Linked DNA regions of Homo sapiens: region 2 is linked to region 1. The links are contacts of gene promoters, found by promoter capture Hi-C in blood cells and fetal thymus (Javierre and others, 2016). All regions are on one chromosome and are shown on one strand. Each heading gives the region's core, a stretch centred on a gene start or on the middle of the fragment in contact. The rest is flanking DNA. Distances are from core to core; before and after follow the strand shown.

Evidence for each region. Contacts are between HindIII fragments. The CHiCAGO score rates a contact against its expected background, and 5 or more counts as called.
Region 2: a fragment that was not itself captured here is called in contact with the fragment with the promoter of MCC in region 1 in 1 of 17 cell types (endothelial precursors); the score reaches 6.0 in endothelial precursors.

What each region holds. Positions count from the first base shown.
Region 1 is chr5:113,484,864-113,490,194 of GRCh38, forward strand. MCC (MCC regulator of Wnt signaling pathway) reads right to left here and starts at 3,590. Exons shown (of 19, transcript NM_001085377.2): 1 at 3,382-3,590. The coding sequence starts at 3,551. RefSeq lists an enhancer at 3,489-3,783. The HindIII fragment of the contact is 3,844 bases long and covers 2,623-5,331 here.
Region 2 is chr5:113,379,975-113,385,838 of GRCh38, forward strand. It overlaps MCC (MCC regulator of Wnt signaling pathway), which reads right to left. Exons shown (of 19, transcript NM_001085377.2): 2 at 4,994-5,238. Among named protein-coding and RNA genes, the nearest start is that of TSSK1B, 52 kb to the right of the region's middle. The HindIII fragment of the contact is 5,277 bases long and covers 404-5,680 here.

The sequences.
Region 1 (5,331 bases), core at 2,340-4,839:
CAAAAAATCCAGTACCATAAAATATGTGGTAAAGTCATTGTAAGGTTAATGAAATGCACTGAAAGAGCTTACGGTGGTCTCACTCTGCTGCCCAAATCCAGCGGGGTCCCAGCCGCAGTTTGGAGCTACTTGATCATAGCTTTCTGTTCTACCTTAACTATTGATGGGGATGATTCTGGGTCCCTTTTATAGGCTAAAGTTCCTTGGCAGAAGCAGCAATTCCAAGAATCTAGTTAGCTGATGCCTTTTTTGTCAGCCTGATAGGAAGACTGGGCCAAGAGAATATTGAAAGCACAAAGCACCACCCCTTACCTCCCTGACATTTCCCCTCACGGCCCAGTTTCTCTTCCACTTATCCTTCCCCCACACTTAAGATTTCCAGCCTACTCCTGTTTAGAATGAGGGTTCAGCGGAGGACCAGAGCAAATATACTTGAATGTGGATTATCATGGGATGGGGGGTTTATTATAGGTATTAACCGCTACTTGCCCACCCAATATCTATTTCCTGCTCTTAGTAACAGAACCCAGATTTTGTTTAGGAGGTAATGTGCCTAGTTGAATTATATGCTTCCTCGGACTCTACTGAAGTAGGCATGGTTAAGTGATGTAGTTTGACCAATAAGATGTCAATTAAGGGATTTGGGAAAGCTCTGCTTTAATGATACAGGCACAACTTATTTCCACTTCCTTTTACATCTTCTTCCCTAGAATTTGGGGATGAAGAGGGAGACAGGGCAATCACCTTTGGACTATGAGATAACCATGAGGATGAATGCTTTATGTGAAAAATGGTGTTGGAGAAAGGTAGAAGGTAGCTGGGGACTGACACCACCGCAGAGCTGCTGCCCCAACCTAGATAGCCTACCTCCAGATTTCTACTAGGTGACAAAGCCAACCCTTACTTGACTATGGTTAGGTTACTGTGATGACATATAGTCATCTGAAATTCTAACAGATACAGCTGTCTACCAGGAACATAAATTTAACGTCTTTAGATGAATCCAAAGTTTTTAAGGTTTTAATGTTAAAAAGTCCAACTCTCATGTCTGATAGAACAGGAATGCACAACCCTCCAAACCACATCACCCACTACAGAGTGGTAAGTACAGGTCATTAAATGAAAGCAGCACAGAAAAGTGGCTTCAGAGAGGGAATCATTTAATGCCCCTTACCTTCATTAGCCCCATTCCCCAAGTCTTACCACATAAACGTAAATTCCAGGTAAAACTGTGCTTACCAGGTAAACACACTTCCAGACAAGTTCCTTGTTGCCCTAGATTGCCATCCCTAAACTTCTCCTACATGGCAATTCTGCCACAGCATAATTTTCAGGGCAGCTCCACCCACAGTTAAAGTTATGATTTAGGGTTCATTACTACACATACCTTGAAACTTTTAAGCAGACACATTAAAGTAATGCAGCTCAAGGAATGTTAACAACTTTTTCCACTTTTGCCCCAGCCAGTTTCTACTCTAATCCAAAACGGCTTCTTTATCACCACCCACTTTACTCAAATTACGCTTACAGAATTCATTATCCTCCCGGGTAGAATCACCGAAAATAATGTGAGCATTTATATAGAAAGTGTAGTTCAGATAAAGCAATATATTAATAGGCCAAATTAGAAAAGGATAGCACGCTGCTAGTTTTCTGTATGCACTCTTGCCCGTGTGAAATTAAACTTTTTTGCATCCATGCGGGGAGCGGTGGCTCAGGCCTGTAATCTCAGCGCTTCCTAAGGCCGAGGCGGGCGGATCACTTAGGGTCAGGAATTCGAGACCAGCCTGGCCAAATTGTGAAGCCCCTTCTCTACTAAAAATACGAAAATTAGCCGGGAGTGGTAGTGGGCACCTGTAATCCCAGCTACTCGGGAAGCTGAGGCAGGAGAATCTCTTGAACCAGGAGGCGGAGGTTGCAGTGAGCCAAGACCACGCCACTGTACTCCAGCCTGGGTGATAGAGCGAGATTCTGTCTAAAAAAAAAAAAAATTGTATCCAAAGTTGGAGTTTGCCTTTATTATTGCAAATGAGATAATAACCTTTCAAGTAGGAAAACAACAAAAAGGAAAACTATATAATGAAATTTCTTTTACTCCCAGAACCAAAATAACGAGACTTCCAGATAGAAATTTGCATGGAGTCAATCAGAATTACATATTATTTTCATTTCCGAACAGAATTACTCCATCAAGTTTTCTGATATCTTCCTAATGTTTCTCAGTAAAACTTTAGCAAAGTAATAAAAATTCACCTAAGAATGATCAAAATTGCGTTGAGTCCCAAATAAATAATTTTTTTTATTTTAAGGGAAAAATTCCGCACTTTGCTTTCTTTTTTTTTTTTTTAGGTAGGCAGGGACAATCAGGAAGCAGCCCCGGATTTTCAGAAACGATCTTTAGCATCACCAAGACATAGACTAAAGAAACATGTAATGCACAACTTAGGCTGCTCCTTCATCCAAGGCAATTCAAATTTCCACGGATACCAAGTCTTCAATGGCCGGTGTCAACCATTCAATAGAAGCATACCAGAAAATGTTGCGATTGCCTTCTTCACCACAAGAGTCTAAGTGACACAAATTTGGGCAGAAGTAATTATTTGGCCAAGCCGGGAGGCAGGAAGCTTAAATACCGCCTCTGTAGGAAGTGCGGGGGATCCGAAGCAAACACCCCAAAGTTTGTTTGTGAGTGGAGGCGCGGAGGCGCCCGGAGCCACGCCGAAGCTCACCTGGTCAGCGCACAGAGCCGGGTAGGAGTCGGGTCTAGCCCTAGTTTGCTCCTGAGCGCTTCGTTCCTCTCAGGCTACTGCGTTTAAATCAATACTGGGTGGCAAACGATACCCATTCTTTGGGCTCTGAAGTTTGGAATTCATGGGTTCTGCGGCACAAGAAAGTTTCTTCACAGGTTATTTCCCTGTCCGAGGCTGTCGCTTAGCTCATCTCCTCCCGGTGCGGCCCTGGGGTGTCCACCAAGCCGCCGGGCAGATCGCTGCCCCGTGCTGCGGCATCTTGATGCCCAGGACCCCGAGGCTGTGGGGCAGCCCCTCCTACCTGGGACAAGCGGCCAGAACTCCTTTTCCCACAGGGAAGAACACTCCAAGCCCCCGGAAGAGTGCGCATCCTAAGGAGATGTCTCCCAACGCCTAGACAAAGACAGCGCTGGGAAAAGTTGGACCAACTGGCACCCCCGCAAGGCGAACAGAGCAGTCCCCTCGGCCTTCGTGGCCGAGCCGGCTACGCGCTCTCGGAGTCGCGGCCAACTTTTCCCGCGAGCTTCTGAGCAACTTGCCGCAAGTTGGGGCGAGGGGGCAGAGCAGGGGTCAAGGGCGCGCGGAGGGACTGATCTCGCTCCTGTCGGTTTCCTCGTACCTCCCCGCGTACCTGCTGATGTATCCGTCCCCGTCGCCGTCGCACGTCTGGAAGAGGCGCCGCATCCTCTCCTCCTCGCCGGTGCTGGACGTGTCGCTGCTGCTGCTGCTGCTGCCGCTGCCGCCGCCGCCGCCGCCGCTGCTGGAGCTCCCCGCAGCCGCTGCCGCCGCGGCCGCCATCATGCGCCCGCTCCCTACTTGGGAGGAGGAGTACGCGCGACCGCAGCTGGAATCCGCGCGGCGCGCAAGCTGCCTGCAGCCCCGAACTTGCCTGACAACGGAGCATGCCCAGTGGCCGCCGGGGCGCTCCGGGCGAGGGATTCCACCTCTCCGGGTTTTGCCCGGACTGGGAAGATGGGCGCTCTGGAATCGCCCGAGGAGGCACCTCAGGGAAGAGGGAGGAGGGGAAGGTGGCTGGAAGAGTCAGGGAGCTAAGGGTGGCAACGGGAACACAAGAGGAGGCAGAATACACTGGAAGCCCCCGGGAAGGGTGTCAGCATTGTGCATCCGGCAACGACGCGGGCCCGGGACACTTGGGGACGCTTCAGGCAGAGGGCAGGTGTACTCCCGGCAGACCTTCTCCGACCGCCCGGAGTCATGGCTTCCTTTTCCAGAGAAGCTATATAAACACTCTCCTTCTGCAAACTCAAAACGGTGCTTGTAATCCCACTCTCCAGGATTGTTCCGGGTTCTGTACCCATAGCCACCAATGAGAACCGGAATGACTGGCCTTTTTATGAAATTTTGACACCTGTCAAGAAACCTGGCCCTCGCAGCCCTCATCTTGGCTCCCACTCTGTACTGGGAAGAGTCTGCACGCTGTGTGGCATTGTGTACGTTGGGTCAATTTCTGGAAACGGCTCACTCTACTGGCCAGGCATCACTAGAATTTCCCCCAACAGCTTTAATAATGCCAAGAGCGAACATAATAGATGGTCTCATTTGATCCACACTACAGACCTGGAAGATGCCTCTTTTATTATCAATCCTACGACTTAGGAAGTATTAATAGATAAGTACCTCATAGAGTTATCTTACATATAAAAGGAGAGCAGACATAATGCAGTTAGGACAATGTCTGACACCTAGTAAGTGCTCAACAACTGTTAGCTCTCATTGTTCCCAATTTACAGGTAAGAAAACTGAGGTACCAAGACCTGCTCAAGGTTCCAGGTTTAGTAAGTGTTAGGGCAGAGGCAAGCCCGGGCAGCCTAACTCCAGAGCAGGAGCCTTTAAACACTGCACTATTCCCCCATAGCCAAAGGGAAACCACAGTGAAGCAATTTGTGGTTTCGTGAATGACTCATTATTCTGTCCTGGATTTTCTGCCAGAGAGGCGTGTGAAGTTCTCTGGTGGTTTTAAAATATGTCCACAGATTCTTTGGTGCACCCCTCATCAAGAGGTGGAGTCTGTTGCTTCCCCTAAACCTGGATTGGACTTGTGACTGCCTTGACTTCTGAGACTAGGTTAGAAAAGGCAATGCAGATTGCACTTGGCTCTCTCCCTTGGGACACTTACCTTTGAAGCCTTGAGCTGCCTGAAAAGAAGTTTGGCTACCCTGAAGCTGGAGAAACCATGCAGAAAGACCATGTAAAGAAAAAAGGAGATGACCAAAGAGCTACAGCTGTTCTAGCCCTGGATCTTAGAATCTTCCCAGACTAGGTGCCAGACATGAGTGAGAGATGATGCTAGCTCTAGATGCTGCAACTGCATTGGAGACCCTGAGCAAAACTGGCTAACCAACCCCCAGAGCTGTGAAGATAATAATTAAAAATTGTTGTTTTAAGCCATTAAGTTTTGAGGTGATTTGTTATGCAGCAATATATAACTGGAACAAGTCCATATGTCTTGGGAATGTCTGCTAGGTCAGAAGGAAGGAATCTCTGCTCTCTTTCTCCTCCTCTCCACCCCATCTACCTATTCCTACTTTACTTCTTTATTATTCTCTAAGTTCCCAGTATT
Region 2 (5,864 bases), core at 1,792-4,291, 110 kb before region 1:
AACAAAGAAATTCCTTCCTCACATAATATTTATAACCATCTCTTTAAATCAGTGTTCTGCAGAAAACACTTAGGAGGAATGAATCTATGGAAATTCCTCTTCCGAGCTGAGCATGTAATGTTTTGACTAGTCTTTTTCTGCCAACCCAGCTCCCTGCTGTAGATGTGCTGTGAAATGTCGAGGCTGACAATAAACTTCTTCTGGCACTTAACTATTAAACCGAAGTTTTTCTTAGGCTTTTCTCACAACAGCACAACATTCTTTCTACTTCTCTCCATCCTACAGTCACAGGTAACCATTTCCTGAAACTCCTGTTCACAGTATTTCTTAGCTCCTCTTACAGAGCAGACCATAACTTCTGTACCATTCGATGGCTTCCAAACTTTTGTTAACTCTACTTTAAAGCTTATTGTCACTTAATTTGTCATGTGCTTATGCATCCACAATCACATTATAAGTTATTTAGTGTCTGGAACTGTGCACTGCACTTCCCTGTGTCCCTAAAGTAGCATGACAGTGCATTGCTCATTCATTCATTCATTCATTCATTCAACAAACATGCACCAAGCATCTTCCCTGTGCCAGGCACTATTCTAAGTGCTGGAGTATAGCAGTAAACATGACAATCAACGTCATTAGTAATCCGGTGGAAATTTATTTGTATGGGGAAAGATAGATAAGTAAATATTCAAGGAGGTACATAACTCATGTCAGATAAGGGTGAGTGGTATGAAGCAGTTAAGGGCATGTGAATGAGGAAAGGAGGAGAGGCTGCTTGAGCTTGGAAAGGCCTCTCTGAAGAGGAAATATTTAAGCCCGGTTAAGTGCCTAGTAAAGGCTCAGAGACAGGCTGAGTTTGCTAAATTAGAGGAAAAGCAGGAAGGCCAGTGTGACTGTGGCAAACATGGTAAGTCAGGGGAGCAAGATGAGATCAACTCAGAGTGGGTGGTGTGCACCACATTGTGGTAAGGAATTTGGACTTTATTTTAAGATGATACAGAAGCCACAGAATGTTTTAGACATGGGATTGAACTAAGCATGATTTTATAACTTTAAAAGACAATTCTGACTACAGGGTAGAAAATAAAATGTCAGGAGCCAAGGAAGGGGCCAGGGAGGCCAGTTAAAGGTTATTTTAGTAGGCAAGGCAAGATATGATGGTGATTTGGACACGGTGATGGCAGGAGAGCAAAGGAAGTGGGCAGATTCTGGCTATACTTTTGCACGCGAGACAGTGGGACTTGCCAGCTTGAGCAAACAGATGAACAGAAATATTTCCAAGATGCAGATATTTACTAAATGCAGATATTTCCTAGGTAAAGGTTATCTGGGAGACTAGTAAGCCTGGGAGAAAAAGTAGGGGACAGAATCAAAAGTTCTTTTTCACTGCATTAAGGTTGGAAGTCTGTAAGATATCTAGGAATACATGTCAATTTAACCTGATTCTGGAGATCACAGGAAAGGGCAGGGATATATATAATTATATTTGGGAGTTACTGGTACAAAACTAGTATTTAAAACCATACGACCAAGCTCGGCATGGTGGTGCTTGCCTGTAATCTCAGCACTCTGGGAGGCTGAGGCAGGAAGATGGCTTGAGTCCAAGAGTTGAGACTATCCTGGACAACATAGTGAAACCCATCTCCACAAAAAAATACAAAATATTAGCTGGGCCTGGTGGTGCATGCCTGTAGTTCCAGCTACTTGGGAAGCTGAGACAGGAGGATCACTTGAGTCCAGGAGGTTGAGGCTGTAGTGAGCCATGATTGCACCACTGCACTCCAGCCTGGGTGACAGAGTGAGATCCTGACTCAAATAAATAAATAAATAAACCCATGGGACCACAAGAAATCATCTAAGGAGAGAATGTAACCCCAAGGCACCTCCAAATTTGGAAGTAGTATAGGCTGAGAAAGGGAAGCTAAAATGGTAAACAGGAGAACATGGTGTCAAGAAGTCCAAGAGAATAAAGTATAGCTAGCATGAAGGAGTGGTCAGCTGGGTCAAAATCCAAAGATTTAGATGTGGGCAGAAAAGGAATCTTTGGATTGCCAACATGGAGGCAGCAAGAGCAGGGCCAGCAGAGTGGTGAGGACTGAAGATGGTAAGAGTTCACTGAAGAAAGGGTCAGAGAAATAAGGCAGTACTAATGGGGACACAAAGTCAAGAGAGGGTTTCCCTCCACCCCCAGAAGGGAGATCCTGGAGTTTACCTAAATAGAGTCAGAAGGAGAGGTTAATAGTATAGAAAAGAGAAGGACTAATTGAACATGTATATCTTTATCTAATTATTGTCCTTTTTTTTTTTTTTTTTGGATACAGGGTCTTACTCTATCACCCCGGCTGGAGTGCAGTGGTGTAATCATAGCTCACTGCAACCTCTAACTCTTGGGCTCAAGTAACTCCTCCATATCAGCCTCCTGAGTAGCTAGGACAACAGGCATGCACCACTGCACCTGGCTAACTTTTAAATTTTTTGTACGTTGCCCAGGCTAGTTTCAAACTTGTGACCTCAAGTGATCCTCCCGCCTCGGCCTCCTAAAGTGCTGGGATTACAGGTGTGAGCCATGGTGCCCAGCCTAATTAGTGTCAATTTTTGGATGTATTTGATTTACGTTAGGCTGAATAGGGAGTTGTTTTCCCAATCCCCAGGACTTAAAACCGGGTGGTAATAATAATAAGAATATTAGTTTAACACGTATTTAGTGATTATGTGTGGGGCATTGCTTTATGGACTTTACATATATATTAGCTCCTTTATTCCCCCAAATAACAACTGCCCCCATTCTACATTTGAGGAAAATGAGACACAGAGAGGTTAAATAATTTGTCTAGTGTCATGTAGACAGTAAGCATCAGAAACAGGATTCTCACTCAAATAGTCTGACTCTGAACTCTTAACTACCAGGAGAAAGTGGTAGGAGGTTTCACAGCCGCTGGCACTTCCTCAGTTCAGGACATGTTTTATGAATCACCTCCTGTCAGTTACCACCTCTTTTCCCAAGGGTATAAGGTTATATAAAAGGATGAAAGGGTATTGTTTTTCAATCCTTTCTCTGGTCAGGACAGTCTTCCAAGCTGGTCAAACCAATTAGATGTGTGCAGCAATTCTTTCAAACCAGTTCCTTTTAGGATTTTTATAAATATCTACTACACATAAACAATTTTTTTTCACAAAAAATTTCCTTCTGTGTACATATTTTGATACACATTTACACATTATTTTAATGCTATATAGTATGCAATTATTGGTTGGGGTGTTCCACAATGTACTTAACACTTCAACTATGTATGTGTGTACACTTATGTGTTTATAGAAGAAATCCATGTTCTTGGCAGAAAAATCTGAAAATACAGCTTAGCAGAAAAAATTCCTTCATTTCATCATTTAATAAATATTTACTGAGTGTCTATTTTGTGTCATGCAAACTTACGAATCATGCTTTCAAATACCATTAAAAGCATGAAGAAAATGCAAAAGAAAAACTGCAAGATACAAAATATGCAGAAGATATGTGGAAAAATTAGTAAAACACAAATCACACACATGACGAGAGAGACAGAGGGAGAGGAAAAGATTCCAGAAGTAAGTATATCAAACGTAGGCAGTAGTTATTATTTCCAGGTGGTAGGATTAGTATGATTTTTATTTTCTTCTGCTTGCCTTTTTTTCCCCGTGTTTTTTTATAATGAACATATATTACTTGAATACTCAGAAAGTTTGTATTTCAATATTAAGTATTTCTACATATTATGTTAAGAGCACATGCATTACCAGACATCTGATTTGCTGCTAAAGTAGAATATATGAAGGTAGTAACGCATGGAGTGTATGTGGACATTTTTATTGTTTCCATTACTCAATAATAAGAAGCATTGTTTAAAGATGTGTGTGTATGTGGCACTACACAATTATCTATGCTCATTTGGACAGGGACAACCAACATGACCCTTTACTTCTTGCCAATAGATCTACCTAGCAGAGAAACAATGAGATCAAAGACACATTTTCAAGGAAAAACAAACCCTGAAAATTCAGATACTTTCTTCCGTCTCTTTGTCAAGGCTACCCTTTAAGATGTCTCCTTTCTTTCCTTTTTAACTTTTTATTATGTAAAATCTCAAACATACTAAAAAATATGTATAACTGAGTATTCAAAAATATATACAAGAAACCCCATGTTCCCATCACCCAATTTCAATAATTATCAACAGTATTAAGAACTTTCTTTCCAACTGCTTATCTTGCACCAGTAAGAAATATAAACTTATGAACAGAAAAACCATCTTTATAGAAAACGATTTTAATCTTAAATTTAAAAAATTGCTTTTAGGCCAGGCGCAGCGGCTCACACCTGTAATCCCAGCACTTTGGGAGGCCAAGGCAGGTGGATCACGAGGTCAGGAGATCAAGACCATCCTGGCTAATACGGTGAAACCCCGTCTCTACTAAAAATACAAAAAATTAGCTGGGCGTGGTAGCAGGTGCCTGTAGTCCCAGCTACTCAGGAGACTGAGGCAGGAGAAAGGCGGGAACCCGGGAGGCAGAGGTTGCAGTGAGCCGAGATCCCGCCACTGCACGCCAGCCTGGGCAACAGAGCAAGACTCCGTCCCCCGCCCCCCAAAAAAATTGCTTTTAAAAGCCTCTGCATGTAACCTTGAAACTTCCTCCCCAAAGAGCTTCTGAGGCCTGCTGATGCAGTTACTACCTTTCTTATGCATTTGCCCTTCTTCCATAATAGCTACTTGAATGCATTATTATACTTAGAAAATGGAAGAAGCAAAATAAAGAAAGCAGCAAGCTGGGAAGTGTGAAGCCATCAGACAGAACTGGGGGAAACAGTGAGCACTCCCCCAGGGAAAGTGTGGCCAGGAGGGCAGCCTCAGTATGAGCTGAGGCTGTGGCCTCATGATGGGGAGGCTACTCTCATTTAATGAGAGATCACAGGCAAGGCCAGTGGAGTGCCATAAAACTGCCACCTGGTTATACCTACCCAAACTGTTGTCACTGCTCGTGGGCCAGGAAGCAATTCTATCCCTCAGCTTCTTTGTACAGGAGTTGTCTGACTTTGCAGAAAGATCTACTTCCTCCTTCCTAATTTCTCGAACAAGCTGCATGCGGCATCTTGTGAAATCCTGAAAGGAAATCTTCCCATTTTCATCTGCTCCCAACTGGTTCATGATCTCAGCCACAGACTCTTCCATATTCAGCTGGCGACAGACCATTAGCAAGTCATTTCTGCAGAAGGGGTTGAACAGAAGAAAATGTGTTATGAGTGACATTTAAGCTAGAGAAACTGGTTAATGAAAAAAAAAAGGTATTTCTTAAATATATTCACATACTAGACCTATTTTCAACTTTCTCATTGTTTCTAGAAAAGTGATAAGTGTATGAAAAAAACGTGTTCCATTTGGGTTATTCTAAACAAAAACTCTATTATTTGGAATGGTGAGGCAACTTTTAATCTTTTGTTCTCTTTTTCTTCCTGTTTCCACACCCTTCTCTCCCTTTCTTTGTTTTGAAATTGAGGATTATAAAGTTCTTTCTTTACACCTGAAGAGCATAGCACTGTAATCTCACTGTAAGATAAAGTTTCAGAACATAGAACAGACATTATTTCTACTCTTGGCAGAGTCCAAAACCTAGTCAAGTTATAAAAGAACCAACAGAGATTTTAACAAGCTTGATTTTCAGCTTTCTGGACCAATCAGCTAACTTTAGTACTTGTTTAAAACATCATTTAATCTTGACTTTCGTGGTTCAATGCTTAGCTACCTTTGGTTTTTCCTGCTTTTGAGTATTTTCCACCTTCCCACAAGCAATCAGTGAGCCCTAAGACTAAGAGCAGGGATCAAAATCTCAAT